Regions from separate parts of the Homo sapiens genome. Here region 2 is linked to region 1. Evidence: promoter capture Hi-C in 16 types of primary human blood cells and fetal thymus (Javierre and others, 2016). All regions are on one chromosome and are shown on one strand. The core of a region is centred on a gene start or on the middle of the fragment in contact, and the rest is flanking DNA. Distances in the headings are between cores, read along the strand shown.

The links. Contacts are between HindIII fragments. The CHiCAGO score rates a contact against its expected background, and 5 or more counts as called.
Region 2: the fragment with the promoter of FGF6 here is called in contact with the fragment with the promoter of PARP11 in region 1 in 1 of 17 cell types (monocytes); the score reaches 5.9 in monocytes.

Annotation. Positions count from the first base shown.
Region 1 is chr12:3,869,556-3,875,724 of GRCh38, reverse strand. It overlaps PARP11 (poly(ADP-ribose) polymerase family member 11), which reads left to right and starts at 2,326. Exons shown (of 8, transcript NM_020367.6): 1 at 2,326-2,513. The coding sequence starts at 2,496. It overlaps PARP11-AS1 (PARP11 antisense RNA 1), which reads right to left and starts at 5,553. Exons shown (of 2, transcript NR_183432.1): 1 at 3,769-5,553. RefSeq lists enhancers at 837-1,356, 1,357-1,877 and a silencer at 2,549-2,658. The HindIII fragment of the contact is 6,718 bases long and covers 1-3,707 here.
Region 2 is chr12:4,442,222-4,448,390 of GRCh38, reverse strand. FGF6 (fibroblast growth factor 6) reads left to right here and starts at 2,576. Exons shown (of 3, transcript NM_020996.3): 1 at 2,576-3,166; 2 at 4,155-4,258. The coding sequence starts at 2,821. RefSeq lists an enhancer at 5,892-6,169. The HindIII fragment of the contact is 8,014 bases long and covers 572-6,169 here.

The sequences.
Region 1 (6,169 bases), core at 1,077-3,576:
AGACCAACCTGGCCAACATGGTGAAACTCCATCTCTTCTAAAAATACAAAATTAGCCAGGCATGATGGCATGTGCCTGTAGTCCCAGCTACCCGGGAGGCTGAGGCAGGAGAATTGCTGGAACCCAGGAGGCAGAGGTGGCAGTAAGTCCAGATTGTGCCACTGTATTCCAGCCTGGGCGACACAGCGAGACTCCAGCTCAAAAAAAAAAAAAAAGAATACCAACTAGCACTAGCACCAAATGGGCACATGCTTGCCTTACTGCATTAAAGCTGGATATCCATTATCTTGTCCTGTAGTCTTAAACATTTTTCTGATGTTTTGACCAATGCAATAGGAAGAAAGAAACGCATTATTTGCAGGTGATAATGATTGTCTGTGTACAAATTCATAGAGATGAGCTGTCAAGCTATTAGAACTAACAAGACATTTTTTCATAGTGTGGTAGGATACAAGGTAAATAAACAAAAGTCAATAGCTTTCCTAAATTACAGCAATAAGAAATATCTCACTTACAAAAAAACTATAAAATATCTAGGAACAAACTTCCCAAGGATTATGCAAACCTATGTGATTTTTTTTTTTTTTTTACAGATGCTGATGCAGATCTGAAAAAAAATTGTTAATGCATCTAAAGATACAGAAAACAAGTATTTCTGAATGGAAAGACCCATGATATTGAAAATTTTGAAAAAGAAGAGAATTAGGAGAGGTTCCTTTATGAAAAGGCAAATATATTAAATATGTAATGATTATAACTGTGGCATATTTTAGGAATAAGCAGATAATTAATAGAGGAGAATGTTCAGAAACAGATATATACGTGTATGTATACCTATGTATATGTATATGCAAATTTAGGTTGTAATTAACAGTGGCACTTCAAAGTAGTGAGGAAAGAATATTCACTAAATGACATGGGGGCAACTGGTCAACCATTTGGCAAAAATAATCTCTTAGTAAACTATTTTATTTCCAGGAATTAATTCCAAGAAGTAAATGGACAAATGTGAAGAAATGCCTGTTGAAGGATTTTTTTGGGATAGTGAAAAATAGAAAACCACTCAAACGTCTATTCAGTAGATTATTTCAAATGTGTGTGTCTATTTGTGTGTACGTAGTATACGCATAAGTTATGGAATGCCATGAGTCTACTTTAAAATATGGCCGGGTGCAAGATGGCTCACACCTGTAATCCCAGCACTTTGGGAGGCCAAGGCAGGTGGATCACCTGGGGTCAGGAGTTCGAGACTGGCCTGGCCAACATGGCGAAAACCTGTCTCTACTAAAAATACAAAAATTCGCGGGACGTGGTGGCGCACATCTGTAATCCCAGCTACTCAGGAGCCTGAGGCACGGGAATCGCTTGAACTCGGGAGGCGGAGGTTGCAGTGAGCCAAAATGGCGCCACTGCGCTCCAGCCTGGGCGACAGAGCGAGGTTCTGCCTAAATAAATAAATAAAATGATGAAACAGATTTAAACTTAATGGAATGGAAGGATAGCCACATAATCTTTAAAGTGAAAAAAAAATCAGGTTCTAAATCTATAGGTATTCTTTGATTACATTTTTTTCAATGTGTAGAGGCATAGAAAAGTCCAGAAGGATCTATAATGAGCTGTTTAATTTTCATTTCCTATGGGGTAGATCCTTTGTTGCATGGAAGATTATTTCACTCTGTTAGCTCTCTTTACATCAGTAGGAATACATCCTCATGGTTTTAAACATCTTGAGGGAGCTTTCCTGACACTCTACTCTAGGTAAATATGCTCGCATAGCACTCTCTATTCACCATATTACCTATAAATCATATTGCACTTTTTAACTTTTCTAAACTACTTTTTGCTTTCTTTTCTAGATTATAAAATCTTGAGGGCAGGGATAGTATGTAAAGGTTCCCTTGTGAGCAAATAACCGTCACTTATTGAACTCTGTGTGCCAAATACTGTGCTAAATGCTTTCAATAATCTCACTCATAGGGAGATATTACTACCATCTCCATTTTGAGGATGAAGATATTGAAAGATTATGAAGTTTCTCCCAAATGCCATTGCCAGGCCTGTGTGACTCTTGGTCGTTACACGGTGATCAATAAAAATTTGTTTCATAGGAAAGAAATACAGCCAGCCGTGGCTTTAAGATCACTGGGTGATACAGTTGGACCAGAAACCCTTTAAACTCCTTCGTCAGACACAGACTCGCAAGCCCCGCCCAGGACGACCGCCCGCGCGCGTATGGATAAGCGTGCAGGGGCGGGGCGAGCTTGTAGGAGTGGGGCGGAGACAGATCTGACTGGCCAACGTCGGGCGGAAGTCGGGAGGTTGGGTGGTCTGTAAACGCTGGCTTGTGACAGGGAGGGGGAGGAGGAAGGCCTTCGTAAAGGTTGCATCTCCGTCCCTTCGCTCCCGGGGACCCGCGGGAAAAAAAAAAATCCAACACCCAGGCCCCGCGGCTAGCCCCTTCCCACAGGCTCTCTCCGCTCGATTTTGTCACCGTTATGTGGGAAGCGAATCCAGTGAGTAGCCGGGCGGGACGGGGCGGGCCCAGGGGGCGGGGTTGATGAGAGAGGGGCGGGAGGGGGTCACCGGAACTGCTTCCCCGCGCTCGCTTCAGTCTGGGTGTTGAGTTCCGGGACCGGAGTTCCCGGGCCTTTTGGCTTCTGTAGTCTGTACCTTTTTAAGCAGTGGAAGTGCCTGGGTGGATTCTCCAATGCTTTATTGTTTTCTTGTTACAATTATTTATTTTACTTCCCGTGATGTTTCAGCCTCATCCCTTCACCATTTGTTGTTGTTGTTGTTTTTGAGACGGAGTCTCGCACTGTTGTCCAGGCTGGAGTGCAGTGGCGTGATCTCGGCCCACCGCAACCTCCGTCTCCCGGGTTAAAGCGATTGTCGTGCCTCAGCCTCCCGACTGCCTTCACTGTTTTTTGAAACTTTGTGTTTTGCTTTCTAATTGGAGTAACTGGCCTTGGAACCTGTAGTCAGTCATTTGCCTCAGGTTTACCTGCCAGTCCCACCAGTCTAAAGCAAGGGAATTGGGACCCCCTTGTCTTGAATGGGCCTAAGAGGAGCCATCAGTTCTCCTTTTCCCTTCTTGGTGGACAGTCGTTTAAAACTTGGAGTATGGACTGTATGTTCTTAGATGTTTTCGTTCGGTGGACAAAGTGATCTGGAGCATTTCAACTGCAAGTCTGCCTTCTTCCTTGGCTGACTCTGGTATTTTCATTATGACTTCATGTGTCTTTGTCTACTTTGCTTTTATACATTTATTTATTTAAAGTGCAACGTAGGGGCCGAAAACTTTAGTACCTTTCCTCACCACCCATTGTAAGGATCACAGCCACCACTCCTTAAAACAGAAGATAGGTTAACAAGGTAAAAGCAGAGCAAATCTAATCAAAGTTTTACACCACCAGGCACTTCAGAGACCAGGGAGATCTCTATTTTTATGCGTAGGACCCATGAAGAATAGACAACTGTGTAAAAATGTGACTGGACAAAGGATATACTCTAATGTTAATAAACTGAGGAAGGAAGCCCAGCAAGGTCTGTTTGTTCAGATTCTTCTTGGCCTCTCTGTGTATCATTTCTTCCTCCTACGGAGGAGGAAGGTCCCTTCTGGAATGAGGGTCTTAGCGACCTACTATCAGGCAAGGTAGATTAGAGAATTTCTTTATGGCCAGTTCCTATAGACAATGGCAGGGAAAGCTTAATAGTTCCAGTTTTTATGGCTTGCTTTGTAGGAGAGGGATCCTAGTTTCTATCACTCACCTTGGGGAAGAATTCTGGTTTCTGTGACTCACTTCTGGGACGAAAGATGGGCAGGAGACAGAAGGGCAGGAGATCAGAGGGAGAGACTGCTTCCGAGGCTGCTTCTGAGGCCTTCCAATCTCTTTTAGTTCAAAGTATTCAGCATGCCAAAGTGTCATACTTCGGGGTAGTATTTTCTGAGCCCCAACACAACCCTCAGAGAGTGGGATCTATTTGCCAAGAGTATTCTTCTGTTGTTATGGTTGAAACTGCCTGGTAAGGTGGCAGATGTATGGTATTTAAAACTTAGGAGTTGACTGGAAAAATGGTAGAATCACATTTCAGCAAGTTGTTGGACTAAATACAGTCGTGCGCCTCCTAACAATGGGGATATGTTCTGAGAAGTTCATTGCTGGGTGATTTTTTTCATTGTGCCAACGTCATAGAGTGTACTTTCATAAGCCTGCTACACACCTAAGGCTATATGGAATAGCCTATTGCTCTTAACCTAGAAATCTGTACAGCATAGTATTGTACTGAATACTGTAGGCATTCGTAACACAATGGAAAGTATTTATGTATCTAAACATAGAAAAGATACAGTAAAATAAAGTGTTAACAATCTTTGGGACCACTTGTATATGCGATCCATGGTTGACTGAAAGCTTTTATGCAATGCATAATTGTGTATGAAACATAAGAAACTACTCCTATGCTGAGATAACTGCATAAATTTACTTTAATAACCCCTAATTTCCATATTTGCAATAATTTCCTATAATCAGTATTCTTCCCCTCTCATTTCTGGAATATATTTCCAGATAAGTTAGAAAGTTTATCAGTACATTTCCCTATGTTTTTAAGTTAAGTTTTTATCCAGTAGAAACTAGTCTGTTGGTCTGGATTTGGTAGTTGCACATTATGGTTCCTTCTTGTGCATCATATAACAATAGTCATCATCTTAGTATTTTCGATTCATACGTATAATACTCTCTTCAAGCTGCATTAGAGGAAAGTAATTACTTGTATTTGATTTTAGCAAAAATAATTTAGAATAATGAGAATGTGCTCTCTGCTTATATATTCAGTTTCACTATCTGTCATCAACAACCTTCATTTTGTATTTATATCTTTATGTAGCTATTATTCCCTTTTTGTTATCAGTCCTTCTTAATTTTTCCATAACAAACCCTTTAGCCACCCAAGTATATGTCTTACTCAAGGTTTTAAATCTTTCACTATATTGTAAGATCCACAAGGACAGGGGTTTTTCTCTGTTATTTTTCCTATAGTATCTTCAACTAGAGAACAGAACCTGACACATAGTAGGCACTCAATAAATATTTGTTGAATTCATGATGGTGGTTGTACCAGCAAGGACTAAAGATAATTCTTTGCTCCTACTATGAATTTTCCCTCCTGCGTCACACATACATCAGAATTTGCTGTTGGATTATTTGTGTGTTTGTGAGAATTATAAAGGCATTAATGAATGTCTTATATACTTGATTTGTTATATCATTATCTCATTTCTTTGTAAGCAATGGGTTTTCTTTGAAATCACCTGTGTGATTTTGCTAATTTCAGCAGAGCAGGCTGACTTTTGTTAAAAGTGGGGAATCCTCCACAGATCATCTCACATTCTTCTTTTGCCACCCAAATAAGACATATTTGTCTTACTGCTACTGTATTTTATTACTACTAATAGTTTTTCTTCCTATAAGCATATGAATGATATCAGTAAGCGCAATTTGGTTTTAAAAATCAACATTCTACGTGTGGGTTTCTCTAGTAATTTGTTAGTTTATTTTAGTTTCGCTTTCCTGGTTTCACTTACCACAATTTCACTTACCAGAAGTCAGCTGCGGTCTGAAAATATGAAATGGAAAATTCCAGAAATGAACAATTAATAACTTTTAAGTTGCATACTGTACTGTGTAGTGTGATAAAATCTCATGCCATTGTGCTCCATCCTGCCTGGGGCCACGAATCATCCCTTTGTCCAGCATATCCACACTGCATATACTCTACCTGCCTGCTGGTCATATAATAACATGTAATGTCACTCACTTATTTATTGAGCACCTGTTATAAGCTAGTTAGTGCGAAGTCCCAGGGTTTACAGTGGTGAACAGAACAGACTAGGCTCCAGCCTTTATGGGTTTGCAGTCTGGTGCAGGCAGGCAGATATTAAACAAATAATTATGCAAATACATTTAATTTAAATTGTGATAAAAAGATATGAAAGAAAAAGAGTACTATGACAGTGTAGGGGGAGCTAATACTAGACTGGGCAATCAGGAAAGGCCACCCTGTGAAAGTAACTTTTATAGAGATCTGAAGGATTGAGCAAGCGTTAGCCAGGTAAAGGTTGGCTGGAAGGTGGGGAGAGCTGTTCAGACAGCAGAGATAGTGTGAGCAA
Region 2 (6,169 bases), core at 1,327-3,826, 570 kb before region 1:
CAGGGAAATTTCTGGGAAATAGCTATACTGCGCTCTGCACTGGCCAGTTGTATGTATTATTGCTAGTCACTGTAACAACCTTAGGAAGTAATGATATCATTTTGCAGATGACAAAATAAGCTCAGAGAGGTCCAGAACTTTCCTAAGGTCACACAGCTACTAAATGGTGGAGTTGAGATTCAAATCCAGGTGTCCCCATTCCAAAGCCCATTGCTTTATGAGACATCAACCAGAACCTCTGCACAGAGAGGAATCCAGGAAGAGATGAATCTAAGGAGCGTTACCATTTTTATTGGTATATGACATGGACCTTGTTATAGTTTAATCTCTCTCCTAAGGCAGTCCCAAAGTGGATGGGTTCCAAGAAATTCCACAGAGATTCTGAGCTCTGCTGGTGAGCACCTCTCCGATTATCCAAGGCAAGTGTTAACTTCAGACTGACTTCTCCTTACCATCCAACATGTTTCTGGACTGTCTCTTCCCTAAGTGAGGACCACCAGCATAATTAACACAAGATTCCAAACAACATCACTGAGAAAGTGTCCCCACTGCTCTTGCATCCATGAAAGCTTAACTATATGAAACCCAGCTGGAAATCCAAAGTGAAGTTCTTTTTGTTGACAACTTTGTCTTCGGATTATTCATGAACCTTTTACTTTGCAGAAGGATTTTTAAAAACAGTTTTCCAACAAAGGCCTACATAGTAGACTCAATCTGAGCCTATAAGGCATCATCTTTCCTCATGGGAAATGGCAGTGCTGGTGATGATGAGATTGGGTATGGGACAACGGCAGTGGAAGGGAGAGGAAGCCAATGGGGAAGTCAGGGGGCCGTGGTGACAGTAGGAACAAGTGGTGCCTATGTCCCTCCCCATTCAGTTTACCAGCTGAGGGTAAAGACAGACATCTGGGCTTCACAGGATTTCAGAAGGCATGTCTAGGGCAACACTAAACACATGGCTTGACAGAAATTTGAACCAAAGCATCGAACCCAGTGAACGAGGCAGAAGGGCAGAGAGAAGGCAGGTAGAAGCCACAGACCAGAGGCTGGGACCCAGGGCACAGCAGAAGGTTTAGAATCAGAGGGAAGGCGGTGGTGCCTCAGTAGAGTCCTTGGGCCATGGAACTCACCCCAGGAGCTTTTCCAGGCTGCCTGCAGCCTGCAATGTGGGTGTAGAGTGTGGCTAAGGGAGCTGCCTGCTGGGACCAGCTCTACTGCTCAGGACACTCAAATCCATCTGTATGCCACTGTCATCACCCCACACATACTCTCTCCAATCCCGGCAAAATCAGTGCTAATGTCTCACCAACAGATTAAGGCCTGGATTGAAGTACAAGAAACAGGATTTTTAACTCAAGTTAATTCAATTCCCCAGCGACCCTTGTTAACTTATTCACCCTCAGAGACGTATTAATAGTTCTGTCTTATATTGTATAGAAATTTGTGCAGTGAGTTTTCTGGTAGCTTTACATTTTTTTTCTCACTTCAGTTAGACATGTAATCTATTTAAAAGTAATATGGGAATAAGATAAATCAGTGTAGGAATAACTTCCTGGCAGAAATATTTTTACTAGTTTCTGAGTGTAATATCAGCCCAGCAAAAGTTATCTGCAAATATAGAAGTTCTCATGTACATCAAAGACACTCAAGTTTTTTTTAAGAAATAAATCATTTTATGCTACTGAAATAACTCTGTGATGTGCTATTGGCATTTAAGGAGCTAAACAGACTCTATGGGCCAGCCAACTTCTACTGCAAGCATTAGACATGCACAGGCTTTAGACTCAGGCACACCTTAGAAGTTCTGGCTTTGCTACTTATTAGCTATGGTAACTCGGGCAGGTCATTTATCCTCTCTAAGCCTCAACTTCCTCATCTGTGAAATGGGAATAATATCAGTCACATGCCAGGGATAAATCCAGGGAGAATGGCCAGGGGGCTGTGTCAAAGGCCAGACACAACTTCCACCCCAGGTGAATGTCGGGACCAGGACAGTGAGCAGGCAAACCTTGCCCTTGCCCTCCTTCCCTCCACAATCTTAAAGCTCCTTGAACAACCCCCATCCCCACCCCCTGAGAATGTCTGTGCCCTCCTGCTGAAAGGGTTTGGCCTTTCAGTGTTCCCCTCCACCATGAGCTGTTTCCATGAAAAGATCTCAAGGGTGACTTGAGGCTACGGTCATCACTACCACAAGCCTTTTCCCATCCCTGCCTCTACCTATTGCCCTCTAAATAAGGAAGCCAGCGCTGCCAGGCAAAGAACTTCTGCCCAATATGGGTCCTGGGTGGCCTCTCGCCTCTCTCTTTCCCTGGGCCCCCAGCCAGCTCCCCCCTCCCCCAGAGATGCTCCCTGCTCACTTCATTCCTGCCTCATAGTTGGAATGACAGTGGCTCCCAGAACCCCTGGGGAGTGTGGAGGGTGATGGGGGTCTGGGGAGGCAGCCAGGCCCAAGAGCAGGTTAATGTTACAGCCCTGGATAAGTGAGCTGGGCGGGTTGACGTCAGGGCGATGATGGGTGGAGGGGAGGGCCGGGCTGCTGAAGCAACTATAAAGATAGGTCAAATCAAATATCATCAACTAGGGACGGAGCAAGCGGGCGAGCTAGAGAGCGTCCCCGAGCCATGGTCTCTACCGGCCGCGGCTCAGCCTGGGTCCCTCTGCTCTCAACCCGAGTGCCCGATGGAGGCTTTGGTTTCATGTCAGCAGCCTTCATCTGCCTTCCAAAAATAAGCCCCTGCCGCCATGCCGGAGGGAGAAAAACAAGAAGGGCGGTATTTTTAGGGCCATTAATTCTGACCACGTGCCTGAGAGGCAAGGTGGATGGCCCTGGGACAGAAACTGTTCATCACTATGTCCCGGGGAGCAGGACGTCTGCAGGGCACGCTGTGGGCTCTCGTCTTCCTAGGCATCCTAGTGGGCATGGTGGTGCCCTCGCCTGCAGGCACCCGTGCCAACAACACGCTGCTGGACTCGAGGGGCTGGGGCACCCTGCTGTCCAGGTCTCGCGCCGGGCTAGCTGGAGAGATTGCCGGGGTGAACTGGGAAAGTGGCTATTTGGTGGGGATCAAGCGGCAGCGGAGGCTCTACTGCAACGTGGGCATCGGCTTTCACCTCCAGGTGCTCCCCGACGGCCGGATCAGCGGGACCCACGAGGAGAACCCCTACAGTGAGTGCCAGCTGCAGCCAGTCGGGACGCTTGGGGGTTTGGGCTCATGCAGGGCTAAAAGGTGAAGGGGCCCTGCTCTAGCGGACAGGATGCACGATAAAGGGGGCAGAAATGCTGCTCACCACTTAGATGATTCCACGTGACCCTGCCTGGGTGCAAGCTCAATATACTGCGGTCCAAGCATCCTGGTGTTCTTTGCCATCGCCTTGGTTAGATCCTCAGTGGCACTAACTATTTCAGCATTACTGGCCCATCTGATGCCTTGTAAGACCATTAGGAACCATTAGTCTGGGAAGCCCCCAAGGCCTGGGTAGGGAGAATCAGTTAGTATACTTGGATCAAATTTGACACAAGCTCATTTTTATTCAGCTTCTTTCTTGGAGAAGGAAGGGAAATTCAATTGCAAAATGTCCAACTGAAGCACATCCTTCTTTTTATTTCAGCGGCTCCCTCTGTCCCCAGGTTCTTATCCTGCAAGCTGCCTGCAAGCTGCCAGCTTGCTGTATGGTTAGTCTCCTATCCAAGAAAGGATGGGGGCTGCAGGATCCAAGAAAGCCATCAGCTATGGTGTGGCTGCTGTGTTTTCAAGATTAAGTGGGTTGAGATTTGTTGAAACATGTAGAGTACACATTAAGAAGAAGAAGAAGAATCAGAATTTATTTTTTTACTCAAGTCAAGGACCTCAAGTAATTATGTCACTGAAAGCCCAGATTCAAAGCTCATCTTAAACAGATAGCTAAGTGGTCACTGCAGCCCCTAACTCTGCTATCAGAACCTTCCCTTGCAGAACTGGATTTCTAACAGCACAATGGCAGCACTCGATGAGTCCAGCAGCCAGGGTCTCCTAGAGTTAGAGGGATCATGGATGGGGCAATGGAGAGTCTGGCTTTCTAGGAGAAGGGGGATGGACTGAGATGCCCTTGTCGGCTCAAGTTCCCACTCTGATTTGCACAAGCCTTAGGTAATGTGGCCCCCCTTTCCTTGTCAGGCCTGCTGGAAATTTCCACTGTGGAGCGAGGCGTGGTGAGTCTCTTTGGAGTGAGAAGTGCCCTCTTCGTTGCCATGAACAGTAAAGGAAGATTGTACGCAACGGTGAGTTCACCAGGCCGGGGAAGTGCCAGGTTTACAAGGCTTGATGCTTACACAGTTGAAGAAAATAATATGAAGTCCTGAGTAGAGAAGTGACTATCTAAATGGGAAAGGAAAGGCTGTGAGAGGAGCCTGTGAAAGGGAGGGGCCTTGCAGCTTGTGCTTCTTCAGCCTCACGGGTGATTGTCCTCTGCCCTGGCCCGTGCTTCTTCTGTTCCCACCTGCCGGCCGGAGCCCGTGTGCTTAAACGGAAACCACAGCTCAGGGAGCCCGTGGGCCAGAGGGAAACCCACATTCTGGCATCCAGGCTTGTGAGCAGGTGTGATTCCCTGCACTGGCGAGGCCCCGAGAGCAAGTCTGTCTCTCTGCCTGGGTGCGCTGCTCCATGACACGCGCCCTGCAAGATGCCCCAGCCTCGTGCGCAGCAGGAGGAGTGGAATGGGAGGCTATTTTCATCCTCATCAGTGTGCTGAGATTCTGCACTAGGGTTTTCAATCCTCTGGTCTCCGATCACGTACGCTAGAGAAGCAGCCTACCCGTTATACACTTTAGGCTGGTACCAGTCCCACCCATTCCCATCCCCACCCCCATAGGTCACCTCTGGGAGTGCCAATGCTGGCACTTGGGTTAATGCAACCAGCTTCTAAGCACATTGACGAAAACCTCTGCTCTCACTGACCTACTCTTTCCTGCAGCCCTCGGCCCATCATTTGGCTTATTCCAAAATATGGCGGGGCAAACATCCCGATGAGGCTGAAGAAATGGAGAGTTCCTTTGACAGAAATAAGCAAGCTAAAAAGGAAGACCTCAGAGCAGGCCTCAAAAAATATCAAAGTTATTTATGGGGAGGGTGTGGAGAGCTGATCTACTGCCCCTTGGAGGATAAACTGAGGACTGGGATGTGAAGAAATAGATCCAGGACTGGCACTGGGTCCCAGGGGAGCTGTCCCAACAGAGGAGGTCTATGAAATACAAGAACGGGTTCACCAGGTGGCCTCCACCCCATAATCTTTAGTGCTAACATCTCTCAGTCTGGGTTGGTTTATGTGGACATACGGCATGCACTACAATCAGTGGGTCTCCCACACGGGTCTGTGGACAGTTTGCATCTCTGTCACCTTGGAAACTTATTAAAAGTATGGATTTCCAGGTACCTACCTAGGAGATTCTTATTCAGCAGAGCTGGCGTGTGGGCCTGGAAATCCATTTGTTTTTGTATTTTAAATTTGCCAGGTGTTTCTGAGGAACAGGCAGGCTTGGGGGTCAGCAGGCTACATGGCCTCTGGAGGGCAGGGGACCACCCACTCCCCATGTTACACTGAACCTGAAAGCTGGAGGGCGAGTGAGATGAGACAGAAGAGACATATCCTTGTTACCGCTCTCTGGGAAAGTGATGGCGAGGACAGGAAGAGGCCTGGGACCAACCCAGGTTTTGATGGAGCAGGTTTCCCCTCTGTAGGGTGGGGCATCCCAAAGAACCCCTTCTTCCCAGCCTGCATAATGCCCGGAAGCCCATAGGGTCGGGAGAGCCGGGAATTTAGGCTGTTGGCTGTGGGACTCCATGCAAGCAAGGGACGTTTTAGCAAGTAAATCTCCTGGGAGAAAGCACAAATTTCATAAACTCTTCTTTCTCCTTGTCGCCTTTATCAACAAACCATTTATTACTTTTTTCTTCCTACCCAGAAAGGAATTTAATTGTGGGGAGGAGAAAATGCACAAATATAGAGGAAATTTACCCACTTCCCACTTTCAATCTCTTGGCCCTGGAAGGAGAAGCTGGGAAAGGCTCGGGAAGGGAATATACGATTTAACCATCAGAGAAAGCGCCACAAAGCGGGGAAGAGCATTCAGAATAGCAAAAAGGAAAGGAGGCTGACTCCTAATGCCTGAAACCCACCACCCCACCCCCAGCCC